Regions from separate parts of the Homo sapiens genome. Here regions 2, 3, 4, 5 and 6 are each linked to region 1. Evidence: promoter capture Hi-C in 16 types of primary human blood cells and fetal thymus (Javierre and others, 2016). All regions are on one chromosome and are shown on one strand. The core of a region is centred on a gene start or on the middle of the fragment in contact, and the rest is flanking DNA. Distances in the headings are between cores, read along the strand shown.

The links. The method cuts DNA at HindIII sites, captures the fragments that hold promoters and counts their contacts. A CHiCAGO score of 5 or more calls a contact.
Region 2: a contact is called between a fragment that was not itself captured here and the fragment with the promoter of MNS1 in region 1, in 2 of 17 cell types (fetal thymus and total CD4 T cells). The highest score is 6.6, in fetal thymus.
Region 3: a fragment that was not itself captured here is called in contact with the fragment with the promoter of MNS1 in region 1 in 1 of 17 cell types (fetal thymus); the score reaches 5.3 in fetal thymus.
Region 4: a contact is called between a fragment that was not itself captured here and the fragment with the promoter of MNS1 in region 1, in 1 of 17 cell types (fetal thymus). The highest score is 6.7, in fetal thymus.
Region 5: a fragment that was not itself captured here is called in contact with the fragment with the promoter of MNS1 in region 1 in 1 of 17 cell types (fetal thymus); the score reaches 6.5 in fetal thymus.
Region 6: a contact is called between a fragment that was not itself captured here and the fragment with the promoter of MNS1 in region 1, in 1 of 17 cell types (fetal thymus). The highest score is 5.1, in fetal thymus.

What each region holds. Positions count from the first base shown.
Region 1 is chr15:56,463,800-56,466,550 of GRCh38, reverse strand. It overlaps MNS1 (meiosis specific nuclear structural 1), which reads left to right and starts at 1,414. Exons shown (of 10, transcript NM_018365.4): 1 at 1,414-1,581; 2 at 2,304-2,525. The coding sequence starts at 1,579. RefSeq lists a silencer at 1,235-1,484. The HindIII fragment of the contact is 3,006 bases long and covers 568-2,751 here.
Region 2 is chr15:57,271,806-57,274,556 of GRCh38, reverse strand. TCF12 (transcription factor 12) reads right to left here. Exons shown (of 21, transcript NM_207037.2): 19 at 1,295-1,527. Among named protein-coding and RNA genes, the nearest start is that of SNORD13D, 5.5 kb to the left of the region's middle. The HindIII fragment of the contact is 1,532 bases long and covers 559-2,090 here.
Region 3 is chr15:57,216,129-57,218,879 of GRCh38, reverse strand. The region is part of intron 8 of TCF12 (transcription factor 12); the gene reads right to left. Among named protein-coding and RNA genes, the nearest start is that of SNORD13D, 61 kb to the left of the region's middle. The HindIII fragment of the contact is 693 bases long and covers 1,035-1,727 here.
Region 4 is chr15:57,144,964-57,147,714 of GRCh38, reverse strand. The region is part of intron 5 of TCF12 (transcription factor 12); the gene reads right to left. Among named protein-coding and RNA genes, the nearest start is that of SNORD13D, 130 kb to the left of the region's middle. The HindIII fragment of the contact is 814 bases long and covers 1,023-1,836 here.
Region 5 is chr15:57,119,076-57,121,826 of GRCh38, reverse strand. All of the region lies in intron 5 of TCF12 (transcription factor 12), which reads right to left. Among named protein-coding and RNA genes, the nearest start is that of SNORD13D, 160 kb to the left of the region's middle. The HindIII fragment of the contact is 1,420 bases long and covers 604-2,023 here.
Region 6 is chr15:56,990,601-56,993,351 of GRCh38, reverse strand. All of the region lies in intron 3 of TCF12 (transcription factor 12), which reads right to left. Among named protein-coding and RNA genes, the nearest start is that of TCF12, 73 kb to the right of the region's middle. The HindIII fragment of the contact is 3,108 bases long and covers 1-2,751 here.

The DNA.
Region 1 (2,751 bases), core at 165-2,664:
AGATTACCTATGAAATTATATGAATCCTTCTACCATATCCAAGGGTATACTGGAAATGAGGAATTATAACTGAAGTTCCCTTTAGAGACGAAAGTCTTCATTTCGAGAAGTAAACAGTAAAAAACATACATGTTTGCTGAAATACTTTGCAATGTCACTATTTCACTATTAGGAATTAACAAATTAAACCCCACACTCTATTGAATGTGTTATACCCTGTTCAACCCTGAACCCATGCCTGTCTCCTGTCTCTTCTATACAGTGCCCAACCCTTTGCGGAGATGGATATGCCAAGAAGAGAAATTTATAGCAGGCTGCCTGCTTTGCTCCATTCCAGATCAATTTACACAGAACACCCAGAGGGCAGGTTTACGCCTTCTCTCCATTTCTCTCAAACAGTGATGGCAATGAGTGGAGTACTAGAGACAACATAGATATGCAACCACGGGATAAATGACCAAAGGACAGAGAGACGAGCGACCTCAGTTGTATGATGGAACCAAGAGAAGTCGCTGATTTTTAGTTGTTTTGATCTGGTTGTAAGGATGGGGTGACAACTTCCAAGCTTTTACACGTCAGCACTGAAACTGCAAGTCCCATTTGTTATTAATCTTTAAGCAGACATATTGCTACAGAAGACGGACTCCAAATTAGAATAACACAAAGTTATACCACTAATCACCTTATACAAATATTTTAGTGTTGACAAGATTTCTCTGAATGTATCATTTCTAAAATCAGTATATCTAATTTCTCTGATCCATTATCATTCTTAAACTTCCCATTTAAAATGGACTTTAGTGTCTAACCTGCCTATGGAATGAACCAGATCAACATCCTGCCATCATGTAACGTGCTCTCTCTTGGTACCTGGACCACATAGCAGAGTAAGATTCATGTGGCTCATAGATTTTAGTCCCAAAATTTACCAGCAGCTTCTGCGGGGGGGGGGGGGGGGCGGGGGGGTGAAGTGAAGGCTGCTGGAAGCTCGTGCTACCCTCAGTGCCTCACAACCCAGCAAAGGGGACAGCGACCTGGACTCCCATTGCTGAGGATTAAACCAGTCATCGTCCCTAGCAGAGACCTGGCTGACTAGGCACTTAGTGTGCGGGATGCTCCATGCGTGGAAATTTCCTTCGGCTCCATGCATTAGGCAGTAGTTTGCGTATTTCTCTGTGCGCAGTCTCCACAGTCCCGAACTTGGCTCCCAAACCCACTGAAACCACAGTTCGGCCGCTGGAGGGAAATCGAGCTTCCCTAGCCCACTGCAAAGTGCTTGGGTCAGGCCACAGTCTGAACTTCCCGCTTTTCTAGTTTAGACCTATAGAAGTAGCCCTCCTGCCCTGGTCCTAAGAAGCTCAATGCCGATTGTATCTTATCGCGTCCAATGGGAGGCCACGTTCTGCGTGGGTCACTTTTGGTCGAGCGGAGGGCGCGCAGCTCCACCGTTGCCAAGACGCCGCGTAAACACCCGAGCGCGCGCAGCCAGGTGCGCTCCTTGGGGCTGCTGGCTGCTGCGTTTGCGGCGGGAGGTGGTGGCCGCGGTCCCACGAGAGGGGGTATTTTTCGTCAGCCAAGATGGTGAGCCAGTTGGGGGACTTGAAACTACTTGTTTATTGTTGATTTAATTCTAGTTTGGCGCTCATCTGCTTCTAAAAAAGGATTTTAAGTGCTTAATCTGGTCATTAATTGGGGAACTTGTATTTGCTTTCGGAGGCTTCAGGTGCTATTAGAAGGGACGCTCGCGGTGGTTTCCAGCTTTTTTGGCACTTTTCGCATAGTGTATTAAATACATCTTTAAATCTGCCCAATAGAACCTCTGAAGAAATAAGTAGATATAAAAGTGTAGGAGAAAGCGAATTGATAAATAGCGGCGAATTGACCTATTACATTTATGTTAGGAAAATCTGACCAGCTTCTGAACAGCACTTTATGGCCCTGTGGTGGTAGTCGTGGTGGTGGTGGTGGTGGGTGGAATGAGGGGAGGAGAAATTCCCTGGTGGTAGTAAAGATCTGGGTCTGTAGGGTGCGATTAATCCTAGCACAGCTATTTATTAGCTGCAGAACCTTGGGTAAAGTTACTTTTCATGTTTCATCTATAAAATAGGTAATAATAACAGTACCTATTTAATCGATATGTGAACATATTTACCACGTTTACTTTTTATTCGGTATACTCCTTTGAATTTAGGAAGGAAGCCAGGCTCTTCGTATCCTTTCTTACTAAGGTTTATATCAATACATTTTTTAAAATTAGATTTTGGAATATCAAAATATGCATCTTTTTTTTTCTTCCATCGTAGGGTTCCAAAAGGAGAAATTTGAGCTGTAGTGAAAGGCATCAGAAATTAGTAGATGAAAACTACTGCAAAAAATTACATGTCCAAGCTCTAAAAAACGTCAACAGTCAAATCAGGAATCAAATGGTGCAGAATGAAAATGATAACCGTGTTCAGCGCAAGCAATTTCTCAGATTATTACAAAATGAACAATTTGAGTTGGATATGGAAGAGGCCATTCAAAAGGTAAGTTTTACTATTCATTGTTACTTTTTTTTTCATTTTGCACCTTGGAAACGATGAAAGTCAGCTGTTAATGCTGGAAATGAGTAGATAAACAACAGCAGCAGGTAAGTGATGCCTGATTGTGCCTCAGCTCGGTGTAATCGTAAAGACCTGGGTTTCTGGAGCCGGCCTGTCTTTGAATCCTACTACTGCTATACCTTAGCTACGGACCCTTGAGTAAGTTGCT
Region 2 (2,751 bases), core at 75-2,574, 810 kb before region 1:
TTCAAGGAACCACTGCTTCTGCCACAGGCGAGTGGGTAACAATCTGCCTCCTTATGGATATCACAAGGGAGTCTATAATTACTTGAAGATTAGGTTTCATTAACATTTATACTCCACAGATATTTCAAGGACCTTGGGAGAAGAGGAGCAAGTATCCATTTTTAACATTAGGTTGATTATACACAAAATGATCTATCCCTCATTCTTATTCATTAAATATATTGGAGGGAAGTGGATGAATTAACTACTACTGTATATATTTCTGAAAGTTTGTTCAAGTTCTCTAACTCTGGTTTTCCTAAGAAAGAGTACTCATTCTGTAATCTAATGCTGAGGCTCCATGGCTGTAGTTTTCAAGCATCTGCCCACCCTATTCTTTTTTGAACCGTCTTCACACAAAATCGAAAGAATTGCTCTGAGAGAGACTAGTGGTCAGATCTGGAACCTAGGGCCACATCTATGAATTCCTTGCAAAAAGGCTTAGGATATTTTAAGACAATATATAAGTATATGGAGAAACTCAAGCTTGATGGTAAAACCTCTTAAAGATAAGAAGCTTCTATTATTTGATAACCCAGGGCCTAGGACACAGCTGGTTGGAACAGAGGAGGTATGCAATAAATACATGTTGAACAAATGAAGTTTCAAAGTTTCTTCAAAACTGCAACAAACTTCCTGAAAAATGAAACTGAGTCAGCACTGGGTGAGCTCTTTTGCCCTTAAGGACACAGAGGCATGCCGATGTATGTTAGCCCAAAAAGTTCTTGGTGTTCCTGGTCTGGGGTCAACAAAGAAGCCCTGAGACCTTATTGACATGGGTGTAAAGGTATCTGGCAAAGGCAGAAGGGATGATAACAAGGCATCCTATTAACCAGCAGGGCACGGTAGATACTCCAAAGTAGAGCAGGCAAGAAAATGAATACAGAGAAGTAGGAAAGACATAAAGAGCAGGGAGGAGGGCAGGTCCAGGCAGGGAAATTTAATGGTTGAGAGATCAGAAGCAACCAGAGCAAAGAGACACAAAGCACTATTGCTGAGCAGCAGGCAGAGGCTGTTTGTTATCTGCTTTGCTTCACAGAATTACTCTCTATTGGTGGAGAACACTCAGCCCACAGATATTGGGTGATACAGTGAGACAGAAGTGAGAATTACAGGAAAAACGACCCTGATGATACAGTAGAAGAAGTACTGGGAGAAATAACAAACAACTTCTCCAAGCAGAAGAGCAACTGTAAACAGAAATGTCTGCCCATCTGAAGCAGAACAGTTATACATCTCGGCTGAACCTACTTACCTCTGACTTGCTGTTCTAGACTAAGGATGACTGCCACGGCTTGATGAAGAATAAGGAGTTTTGTTTGGGGTTTTTCACTCTTCAAGTGAAGCTGACACATTCGGCCAAGCTCTTTGAATGCTTCATTAATATCCCGCACGCGTAAGCGTTCTCTGGCATTGTTAGCCATCCGCCTCTCCTTCTCCCTTTCTATCTTCTGTTCAGGGTTCAAATCCTCATCTTCATTAGTACTGCTAGAAAATAAAGTAACAACAAGGTCTATTAGGTTTCCTATAAAGTAAGATATGCTGATTGTGCACAATTATAAAGCGTAAAGATGGAAATGAAAACCACCTATAAATCTTGTAAACAGTTGTAATAGGTGCAGTTAACATGACTGTATATTCCTTTCAAATTTTTCTTCAATGCACATATACAGTCATACAGTTGAAATATACTACATACACTCTTAAGTGCATTTTTCATTGCACATTATAGCATAAAGATTTCTCCAGAAACTCTTCATAAATATAAGATCAACAACTACATAATATTTTAGCACCTTGCTACACAAAATGTGATCCACAAATCAGCAGCATCAGCATTACTGGGAGCTTGTTAAAAACACTGGAGTAGAATCTCTCAGGTTCTGCTCCCATCTTACTGAATTAGAAGCTGCATTTTAACATGTTTCCCAGATGACTGATATACACATTACAGTTTAAAAGCCCCCCTAGTACATGAATGTATAATTTGCTTAGCCTATGCTCTTAAATATACTCTGGCGGTTACCTGGCGAAAAGAAAGAAGGAAAGCTTAAGATATAGATTGAGAGAAGTATCCCAGAAAACGGCTATTTTTTTGTTCTAGAGATAAATTATCATCAGTGGTGATAATTATAAAACATGGGAGAAATGACACAATTTTTTGAAGGGCAAATTGGCAAAACGAATCCAGAGCCTTAATGTTTATTACCTCTTGATCAGCAATTCCAACTTTGGAAATTCATCCTAAGGATATAATTAGAGATGTACATAGAAATTTATGTAAAGGGAGATGATCACAGAATTATTTACATTAGCAACATATTGGGATTTAATAATAGCAAATGGGTTCAATAAATCATAGTACATTCAGACAATGGCCCATTATGTTGTATCTAAAATCAAGTTGCAGATTATGCTAAGTAAAAAAAGCCAGTCATGAAAGATCACATACATACTCTACAATTCCATTTACATGAACTTCTAGAAAACACAAAACTATGGTAGCAGAAAGCAGATCAATGGTTGCCAAGGACCACGGGATGGAGGAAAGGGACTCACTACCAAGGGGAATAAGGACATTTTTTGAGGTGGATTCTACATTATGAATAAGGTGGCTGTTAAATAACTTTTACACTTGTCAAAATGACAAAATATATACATTTTAACATACATAATAAAGACTGTATATTTAAAATTAGTGAATTTTATTAT
Region 3 (2,751 bases), core at 132-2,631, 750 kb before region 1:
ATACTTTAAGCTACAAAAATTATGTTGAGGAAAACTGAAAGGAACACATTTTATTAAAAAGCTTAGTCCAAAAATCAGATAGATTATCTTGAAACTAAATTACCTGTTTTTAAAATGGAAACACTTAATAATACAGATTTTCAGTTATAAAGCTCCTTGAATTCTTCATACACAACACCAATCAAAAGTTTATAATGTCCTGCAATAGGACTGTTCTTAAAAAAAATTCACACATCTTTCATATAAAGTATGAGAGAATAAACTAAACAGTTTCCTATAAGTCTTTCCTCTAAGTTTATTATTGTTCTTAATACTTTGTATATTCATATTTTTATGCTAATGCTCACATTTCTCAGAAAGGAAAAATAAGAAGTGTGGGAATAAATGTCTTACAGACATTTCTAACTCATACTTCGAAGTCAAAAGGTTTTAAAAGTTGTCTACAAAAACATGTGTCTCTTACACAGACACGTTTTGCTATTTAAATGTTTTCCAATCAATCGTTTGCTGTAATTACAACCTGGAAAAACAGAATAGCAACTTTCCCTTTTTGTGTCATTTCCCTTCATCAAAACTTCTTTGTACTATCCTTCCCTCTATGCCTTGTAGGTTCTAACGGGATTGTATTAATCAGAGGAGAGCTCACAAGCTGCAAAAGGGGGCACATCACTTTTTTTAAAGGTACCTTTCATGAAGCAGAAATCCTCTGTGAAATATTCTAGGAATATACTATAAGGGACCCCCTATCCCCCCAACCTCATTTTTACTAACATATTGATCAAATTATAGTAACGAAACTAAATCAGACAATAAGGGCAACTAACTTCACAATGTTTTAAAAGCTGATAGTATTGGAACAACAATAAAACCTCCCCACACTCTCCAGATATAGAAAAGGCTAAGCAGCAGCTGCAAAAGAACATCGCTGTACAGCAGACTATTAAAATGCCAGTCTGCGGAGTGGTTTGTAACTTCCTCCCTCCTGAGAGACCACAAAGACCCATTTCAATCCTTGGAGAACTGTGTAAAAAGCTTTGATTCACAATTAACAATAGCATGCCTTAAAACCATTCAAGTAAATTTTAGTCTTCCATACACAGTCTTTCTCTACTGACAGATCGGCTACTCTCAAAACAAAAAAAAAGGAAAATCAAACAAAATCGAATCAAAATTTTCTTTTTCTATTAATTATTAAAAATAACACTTACTTTTCAATAGAAATTGAGGAGGAATAGGGAGAAGAGGGGAGCCACAAAGCACTGACAATACTTCAACATTTTTATAATCATCGCTTCAATCTGAGAAAACTTTCTTATATTGGTTAAAAAACATCCACCTATGACAGTTAAGCCCATTTCCCTGATGCCGGGCAGAAAACAGAGAGGGTACTTACTATGTTGTTTGATAAAACAAACATCATAATGTAAACCCAACTAAGCAACCTTGGTTATTAAAGCACAATGAAAATTTTAATATTTTAACACCAGTTCTTTATTTTAGAGGCAATTATATGATAATCTGAAGAGAATAAACATACATTCAGATAAAAAAGAAATTCACTGTAAAAGCCAAATAGTATAATCAAATTTCTTTAATGGAAAAAAACACAGTTACTTTTGCACAAACCTAATCAGTTTATTAAACACCTAAGTAAGATTTAGTGTTAAACATGAAACCTGAATGTGAAACATAATTTGTAAAGAGAGTTGAGTAACTAATTAAAAGCTTTTGCTTCTACTTTTCATTGTTCTCCTAAAAAACATAAATATAAAACTCGTACATGTGTAGGTAAGACCTCCCCTGCCAATACAAACCGTAGTCACTTGGTATACACTACTGCCTAAATTGAGCATAGATATAAAAACTTAAAAAAACAACAACAACAAAACTCTATGCCTGTATCTATAATTATATGATATTAAAATCTCATTCTTCAAAAACAGTAAATCATCAACAAAACTGGTGGTAATCTACATAAAATGCCCCTATATTCTACTTGTATGCTATGGAAAAGTCTTTTAAGTTTGTCGCTCCAAAACAGCATTTTTCTTGAAGTCTGCCTTACCCCCCAAAAAACTAAAACTGTTTGATGTAGATGGTCATTGCTTGATTGCCATTATAAATTATCTTGTATAATAAAATCTTTTTTTCTCTGCTCCCAATTTTTTAAAAATTAATTTAATCTATGCAACAGCTGTAGCACAATTTCTTGTCCTAAGGAGAATCATATTACAGGAAAAAAATGCATATAGATGGATCAAGTGCTGCTTTAGTAAATGCAGTTGTTTAATCTTTGCTTTTTTTTTTTTTTTTTTTAAAGGAACATGTCAAGGGTTAATCCTATGACTCAGTCTGACAAAACGAGTCAGCTGGAGACAGGGCCAATTTTTAAACCTGATTTCAGACAGGCTGCCTGCACAGTAGTTCTGAACTGTCATGCACTTTTTATCCAGAATTGTTTCCACCCACAACGCTACATAATCACTTATGTGTTACTCTAAGATTATGTGATCTGACTCAATATTCATGTCACCTAGTTCAACAATATAAAAAAATCACCAAGTTTTACAGCAAGATAGGAATCATTGTACACACTAGCAAAATGACTAGTGAAAATGCCAGAGGACCCTGACAAAATACGTAACTTGGAGCCATATACCTTTTATTAGCAAACTGATGATTCCTGGTTTAAAGATTATTGCATTTCACCAATTTTCAAATATGGCTTTTCCTCCCAAATGTTATCAGGAT
Region 4 (2,751 bases), core at 180-2,679, 680 kb before region 1:
TTATCACATATGTGATAACTGAACCCAAAACTCCTTTGCATTTTCTGTTCCTGTGACTGTCTCTTTCCATTCATAATTTTATAAAATATGCACAAGGATTTAACTGCACCTTTATAGGTTTTTTATTTTATACTTTCTGTTTTTTTTCCCTAGAACATGCAAAGATCTCACTTAGTGCTTTTATGGTAAGAGTTTATTTTGGGTAAAGCTTTAAAAAAAGTATAAAATGCTTTAAAATATTTCAATGAAAGATTATAGCAGATAAGCAGGATTAATTTAAAAAACAAACTATTTGGGGATCAGAAGTAGTTGTTTAATAGGATATAGGTTTAGAGTTCCCAAAAGATATCTTACAACTAAGGAAATAAATATAAAGATAGCTCTAAAGGGTTAGATAACTATTACACTGATGTTAAACAAATACCATGCTTACTGGAATTAAACTTTCTAGAAGTAATAAGCTTAATAACTGAATATATAGTTACATTGTTAGTACTGAGAATGGAAGAAGTGATCCAGAAATGATTGCATTTATTTCACTTTTACTTCCTCAACTTTTTGGATTATATTCAGCCAATATCTATTTAAGGAACTGCTTTGGAAGGCCCTTATGTTTTATGCAAGGCACTGCTATTTTCCCAAATGAATAGAATATCCATTCTCCAGCTCCAAGTTTCCATGACAATAAAAACAAAACATTCATCAGCACCAACTTGGTATTTTATGGCAAATGCAGCTGCAGCTTATAACAGTTCAATCTTTATCCCAACTCATTTCTGCCTAACAGAGGCACTATATTTCTCCAAATCAACTGAATTATTTTTACAGTGATTTTCCCCACCGCAGACCTAAACACTAACAGTGTGTTACACCATCTCTAATTATCATCCACTCTTCCCAATTTCACGCCAAATACAATGAAAGGTTCCCAAATGTTGCTAAGAGCACATTTGATTTGTGAAATCTGAAAGCTCAGTTGATTTAAGTATTACAGCTTTAGAGGAATGTATAATATTTAAGCTTTCATGATTAACTACAAAGAAGACAGAATTTTGGAAACGAAAGACATTCACAGCAAACAAAAAGCTAAATTAAAATCAGTCAGATTATGGTAAGACAGTGCCCCCTTGTGTCTTGGTATTTCTGCCTTGACTAAATCCGGTATTCATTTCCTTAGAGTTCTATAATATAAATTTGAATATTTTTTGTATCACAGAAATAAATAGAACTTGATAACTCTCCTAAGACAAAATCCTAATTTAAAACAATATGAATACACTGGCTATTAAATATAAGTGATTTTTACATGAATACTCTGTAACATGGTGAAAATGTAACAAATTTGTATATCTAGTAATTTCATTTTAAATTTCACATTTAATTTACTATTAGTGAGAGATGTTGACAAAGTTTTAAGAATGAAAGAAAAACCTTGCTACTATCAGTTACATTTTCCTTTGGTATTGGTTCTCCTGTGTAACCACTTTATGCTAGTACTGGTTACCCTCATTATTACCCTGGGGCAACTAATGAGTTTGAGGCTTTACACAGAGAACAAGACTGTATTAAATAGAAGAAATTAACATGAAATCTTAAAGGGTATATGTAATAACAATATGAGTAATACCCTAAGTTACAAATAGCTTTAGAAATAAAAAGTCACATAAAAAACATCATTCATGTTTTTTAACTCCACTCAAAGTGTAATATTCAGATCAGAGGCAAGGCCATGAAGTTTGTAAAAATTCAGAATCTCGGGTACCATACCAGATGATCTGAACTAGAACTTGCATTTTATAGCAAGATCCTTGGATGATTCTTATAAGCAATAAAGCTTCAGAAACGCTGCTCTAAACTCAAAAGCCTTCCTACCCTCAACTATCACGCAGCAGGAGCAGAGTAGCATAAGGAGAGGCTGACTGACCTTTGGGCATAGAGTTAGCTTTTAGAGATCAGGTGGATTCAAAGAAAGAGAGAATCAGGAACAGCTCTAGGAAGGCATCCCTGAGTATATAAACTGAGGCTATGTCAGCGTGCTTACCAAAGTGACTCCTACACCAACTCTTTTTCCCTTTTTCATTCTCTAAAATATATTTTTTAAATGAACAGCTAAGATTCTATCAATCTGTGGTCAATATGGGTGACCAAGAAACTTCAAAAAGCAAATAATGTAAGAATTAGAAGTCCATCACTCATTATCAATGATCCCTAGTACACATTTTTTTTTTACATATTTCAAACTACATTTACTGTGCATTTTCTATCTTATTTCACACTCACCAATCCCCTGATAATCAAGTTTTATTATTCCCATTTTATAAATGAGAAATCATTTATAAATGAGAATCATTGAGGTCAACTAAATTACCAAAGGTCATAAATGTAGTGAAGGCTGAGCACACTGCTAAGATTCAGGTTCTGATTCCAAATCCTAGGTTCTCTGTACTGTAACACATTACCAATACTCATTAATGTAAATAAGCTTAATTAGATTGCCTTTCTCCCAATATTAGCTATGGACAGAATACCCTGCAGAATAACTTTAGAGCAGAAGACTAAAGCAGCACAGTAGCCCTGGGCATATGGAAATGTTCTTATTAAGATGTTTAAATGTTCTTAAATAAGGGATGTTCTTATTTTCTTTTGGCTCATCCATATTTTGATTTTCTACAATAAACATTGTATTTGATACAGGAAAAGTATTTTTAAATGCTCATAGTATATAGTATATTCCTTACAGATAAGCTAAAA
Region 5 (2,751 bases), core at 64-2,563, 660 kb before region 1:
TTTTTAAAGAAGAACACTGTCAGACCATTTGTGCTGCTGTAACAAAAATTCCATAGAATCGGTAATTTACAAACAATACAAATTTATTTCTCATGGTTCTAGAGACTGAGAAGTCTAAGATTAAGGGGCTAGCAGGACTGGCATCTGATATGGGTTGCTCTCTGCTTCCAACATGGCACTTTATTGCTGCCTCCTCTGAGGGGAGCAATACTGTATCTTCAAATGGCAGAAGGGCAAGAGATAAACGCTGTGTCCTCACAGGGTAGAAGAGTGGAAGGGCAAGAAGGTGCGCCTTTCGACCTTGAGCCACTTCATAAGGCGTTAATCCTATTTATGATAGTGAAGCTCTGTCATAATTTAATAACCTCCCACAGGCCAACTACACCTTTTAACACTGTTGCATTGAGGGTTAAATTTCAACATGAATTTTGGAGCAGATACCATCATTCAAACCATGGCAAACACTATTGTTCAAATAAATTCAGTGAACTCATGGAACTGCTCTAATTTCAGAGTGAACCGAATTCATATTTAGAAAACAACCAAAAATGTATTATTTAAACAGTGACAAAGTCTGGTTCTATCCATCAGCGAAGTTAAGCTTCATCTTTGTCCTAGACTAGCGAAAGAACCTCAGTTTCTACGTCAGTCATGTAGCCTCACTGGTAGATGTCATCATCTATATAGCCTCTGGAATGTATGTCAGCTCCAGATCATGCCAAAATGCTACTTCTTTCAGTTTCAAAAACAGATATCCATAAAACTCCTGTTCCAGATTACCTTTCAGTATCAGCTCATTTGCAGAGGAGAGACAACAGGCATTTTCCTTTCCTTTCTTTTCTTTTTTTTAGACAGTCTCACTTTTTCACCCAGGCTAGAGTGCAGAGGTGCAATCATGGCTCACTATAGCCTCAATCTCCTGGGTCCAAGTGATCCTCCAACCTCAGTATCCTGAGTAGATGGGGCCACAGGCTTGCCACAACAGACATTTTCTGAGCCCACTTAACAACCAAACTCTTCCAGTCTCTCATTAAAGAATGTCTCACTTTCCTACACACTGAGATTCCTCACTCAGGTGGCTCTCACAGGAGATCAGCATTTACCAAAAACATTTTAGGAGAAGGATCAAAATCTTACAGGTCCCATATGTAAAATTAGATATGGTGGGGCATAGCAAAAAAATATAGAAATATAATTGTCCATATAATATAAATAAAATATGCTGATAAAATTTTATTCTTCAAGAAGCTGGCAACCTAACAGGAGAGACAGATATGCATTCAAACAACTATAACAAAAGCCAAAACATACACAGAACTGTAAGTCCTGAGAGCTCATCAATGGCAGGGATCATGTAATCTATCTACAGTTTAAAAGCAGTTCAACAAACAATTATTGAGCACTTGATATATATCAGATATTGGATAGGGCCAAGGGAAGAAATGAATCAAGACATCCTATCTTCAAGAAAACTCCAACCTAAAAGCAAGTGTACACAAACAGCAAATTTCAGCATAACATATACAGGGAGCCACAGACAAAACAGCAAGGGAGCACTGAATCCAAGTTGGGAGTTTAGGCAAGGCTTTCTAGAAAAGACAAGCATGGGTTGAAAACTCCAGGACGGCAAAGTCATAAATGCTTCCATTACCAATGTACATCCGAGTAGTCAACGCAGTATCTAGCAAATGGCAGAAATGCAGTAAGTACTGATAAATGAACTGACAGATTTAATTAGGCAAAAAAATGTATGAAGGGCATTTCAGTTAGGGGGAATAATGTGAAAGAAAAGCATGCAAACATAAAACACTTCAAACTAAATGTGTAATTATAAGCAGGTAAATAGTAGTAGGACCTAAGACTCATGACAAGAAATGACAGGAAATAAGGATGGGATATTTGAATACCCTGCATTTAGCTAAGGTTCTGAGACAGAAACAAGGTTGGTGGTCCAAAAAACTTTCAATGTAGTAATGTAAACAACTGATTTTTTTAAAGAGATATAAAGTACTATGGGAAAGCTTAAGAGAAAGAGGTGAATTCCTATTTAGGATTGCCACAGGATCACATGACGAATATTTACCAAGGATCTGCTAAATCAGTGATATTGTGATTCCACTGCCCATTCCTTTAAGAGTTAAAATATTCTAAAATCCAAAGTATACAGTATCCATATGGAGTGAGGGCTGTTGAATAAAGTAGGAGGAAGAAAAGAGACTCTATTTCTTAATTTTGTTTCCAAATAACACAAGGATGAAAAAAGAAACTTCAATTTTACTAGCTGGTTTACAATTATACTTGACTACGGAGTCTCAAAAATAGCATACAGTATCGTATCTAGTATGAAGAAGATACTTAAAAAAAAAAAGCTGTGGACCGGGTACGGTGGCTCATGCCTATAATTCCAGCGGTTTGGAAGGCTGAGCGGAGAGGATTGCTTCACATCAGGAGTTTGAGACTAGCCTGGGCACAATGTGAGACCCTGTCTCTACAAACACTGCCCACCCACCGACCTGCTGCCAAAAAAACAAAAAAACAAACAAACAAACAAAAAAACAAAACCACCATTAGCCAGTCATGGTGGTTCATACTTGCAGTCCCAGCTACTCAGGAGGCTGAGGCAGGAGAATCACTTGAACTGGGGAGGTGGAGATTGCAGTGAGCTGAGATCGTGCCACTGCACTCCAGCCTGGTGAAAGAGTGAGACTCCGTCACAAAAAAGAAAAAAGAAAGAAAACCTGTGAGGGTAGG
Region 6 (2,751 bases), core at 106-2,605, 530 kb before region 1:
GTTCTCATCCCTCAGTTTTGACCATGGGCTCCTGCTGTAGTCTCTGCTGCCATTACCACACGGTTGCTTGGGAATAGGGCATGAGAGATGGAGAAGACAAAAAAAATGACAAAATTTTCATTCTGAACTTAGCAGTTATCTTTCCTGTTCCTTGAGCCAGAAGTAGCAGGCGTCTTTTAGAGCTTTCTGTTTCAGATTGCCCCACTTTTAGGTTTTAGATTGTGTTAAGTTGTCTGGGGATGCTGGAAGAAAAAAAAAATGGTAAACTCACAGCCAGTGAGATGGTATTCTGAATGCTAGTCTTCATTCATATCCCACCTGGTATTATTTATTCTGCAGAGTCCAGAAGAGTTCCATCCATTTTGCCTAGGTTTTATAGATGCATTCAGTGAGAAAGACGGGGTGCATGTGGTTAATCCATCATACTTGGAAAAGGGAACTAACCTCTAACTTCTTCTCAGTTGCTCAATTCTCACTGACACATGAACTCCTCAAATATCCTTATAAAAAGATAATCGGTAATTTAAAATAAGACAATAGTCCTAAGCATTCTTCTATTCACCAAAATTGCACTAATTCACATGGTAACTAACTCATGAAAAGATAGCCGTAACACTATTAATAAAATCCAATCATGTTTTGGCTAAACAGCTTTTATGACTACAGATGATCACTGCAAGGTCCTCAAAATTTTGTAGTGCACTATCAGAAAAGAAGAACTCTACTTCCTCACTCTTTAGCCTTTATAAAATTCACAATGGCATAATGTATAGCACATCACTAGGTATTTGTGTCTGTGATCCATTTACAGGTGATTAGGTAAGAATCACCATTCAACAAAATGTTATGTGACTTTCAATAGTAGACTCAAATTAAAATTATTCAGGACATGTTTTATTTCAGAAGAATGACCCTTAATCTCTTTCAAACCCTGGCTGCTACGTGAGAAACAAAAGCTGTAAAATTTAGTTTTAACAACAACAACAAAAAATTAAAAGCAGAAAGAATGTGGCAATAAAACTTAATTAAAGGAGACTGGATTTAGAAGCAAGGCTTAAATTTTTATTTATTTATTTACTGTGAGACAGGGTCTCACTCTGTCACCCAGGCTAGACTACAGTGTAATGATCACAGCTTACTGCAGCCTCAACCTCCTGGGCTCACATCATCCTCCCACCTCAGCCTCCTGAGTAAGTGGGACCAGAAGCATACATCACCATGCCCAACTAGGTTTTTTTTTTTTCTTTTTGGCTTTTTTTTAGTAGAGACACGATCTCACTGTATTGCCAAGATTGATCTGGAACTGCTGGTCTCAAGTGATCCTCCCACCTCAGCCTCCTAAAGTACTAGGGTACAGGCATGAGCTACTGTGCCTGGCATAGGAGATCAATTTTTAAGGAAATCTAAAGAATCATATGACAATAGTGTTTATCTCCATAATAAACTTAAAAGTTGTTTTAACCAACTTACTTTTTCTATACCCTGATGGTTAAAAGACAGTTAACCCTTGTACAATGTATTAATCAATGATGATAATTATTTCCCTAAATAAAAAAAAGGGCACTATAATTGAGATTTAACTTTGTAGTTCTGACAGAAGAGTATTTGGAAGGAATTAAGGTACACAAAAAATGAGTAACTCATCTGAATTTAGTTTAAAAATGTTAAATGTTTTGCCATGAAAACTTATTAACCCTAAATGTCTTTTAAATCTTTAGACCATCTTCATTCAAGCAGTAGGTATAGCTCTAAATTCACAGACTAAAAAGGACATTTTCCATAGTGCATATTGATAAGATCATATTTCCTCCAAACTTTATATAAATAGGTCCAAACTTTACTGTCAAACAATTAGATTTTCTGAACTGAGTAAATTAAAACCTTATATTGTAGAAATTAGAATTATATGGAAGATAACATAAGGTCACAAGTTCAGCCCTTTCAATGCAAATTCAATATTCCACTTTTTCCTATGTCTCTAACTGGTCAACCATTTTATCTTGTCCAATGTGGGACACTAGTCATTAGATGGAAACGGAAGACTGGTGAGGAAAGAGAAAAGAGGAGGAAAAGTAAAGAAATCAGGAGAGAATTGGATGCATAAATCAGTGCAAATCCTTCACGGTTAGTGAAAATCAACTGAATATGTGAGATGGTGGGTTGGGAATATCATCTTTCATTACATGACACATTTACGTAAGGCGAGCTTGGGAGACTAAAGCAAACCCCTGAGATTTGTTAACAAATCTGAAGACTGGCCAGGCACAGTGGCTCGCGTCTGTAATGTCAGCACTTTGGGAGGCTGAGGTGGGAGGACTGATTAAGCCCAGGAGTTTGACAGCAGCCTGGGCAACATGGTGAGACCCCATCTCTACAAAAAAATTTAAGGATTAGCCAAGTGCAGTGGTGCACATCTGTGGCCCCAGCTACTGTGGAGGCTGAGGTAGGAGCATTGCTTGAGCCTGGAAGGTAGAGGCTCCAGTGAGCCATGATTATGCCACTTCACTCTCCAGCCTAGGTGATAGAGCAAAACCCTGTCTCAAAAAAAAAAAGAAAAAGAAAAAAATTCTGAAGAGTTATAAAGAAATTTTAACGTAGGTGTTCTGGTCAAAGCTGCTAAAGTTTTTAAAGCTCAGCAGTATTTCAGAATCATAACCCAAGAACACATTGGGCTATCAAGCTACAAGTTCTGCAGTAAGTATGCTACAGGCCAACAGATATGTAGAGTAGTGTTAATAACAAATCTGCAAT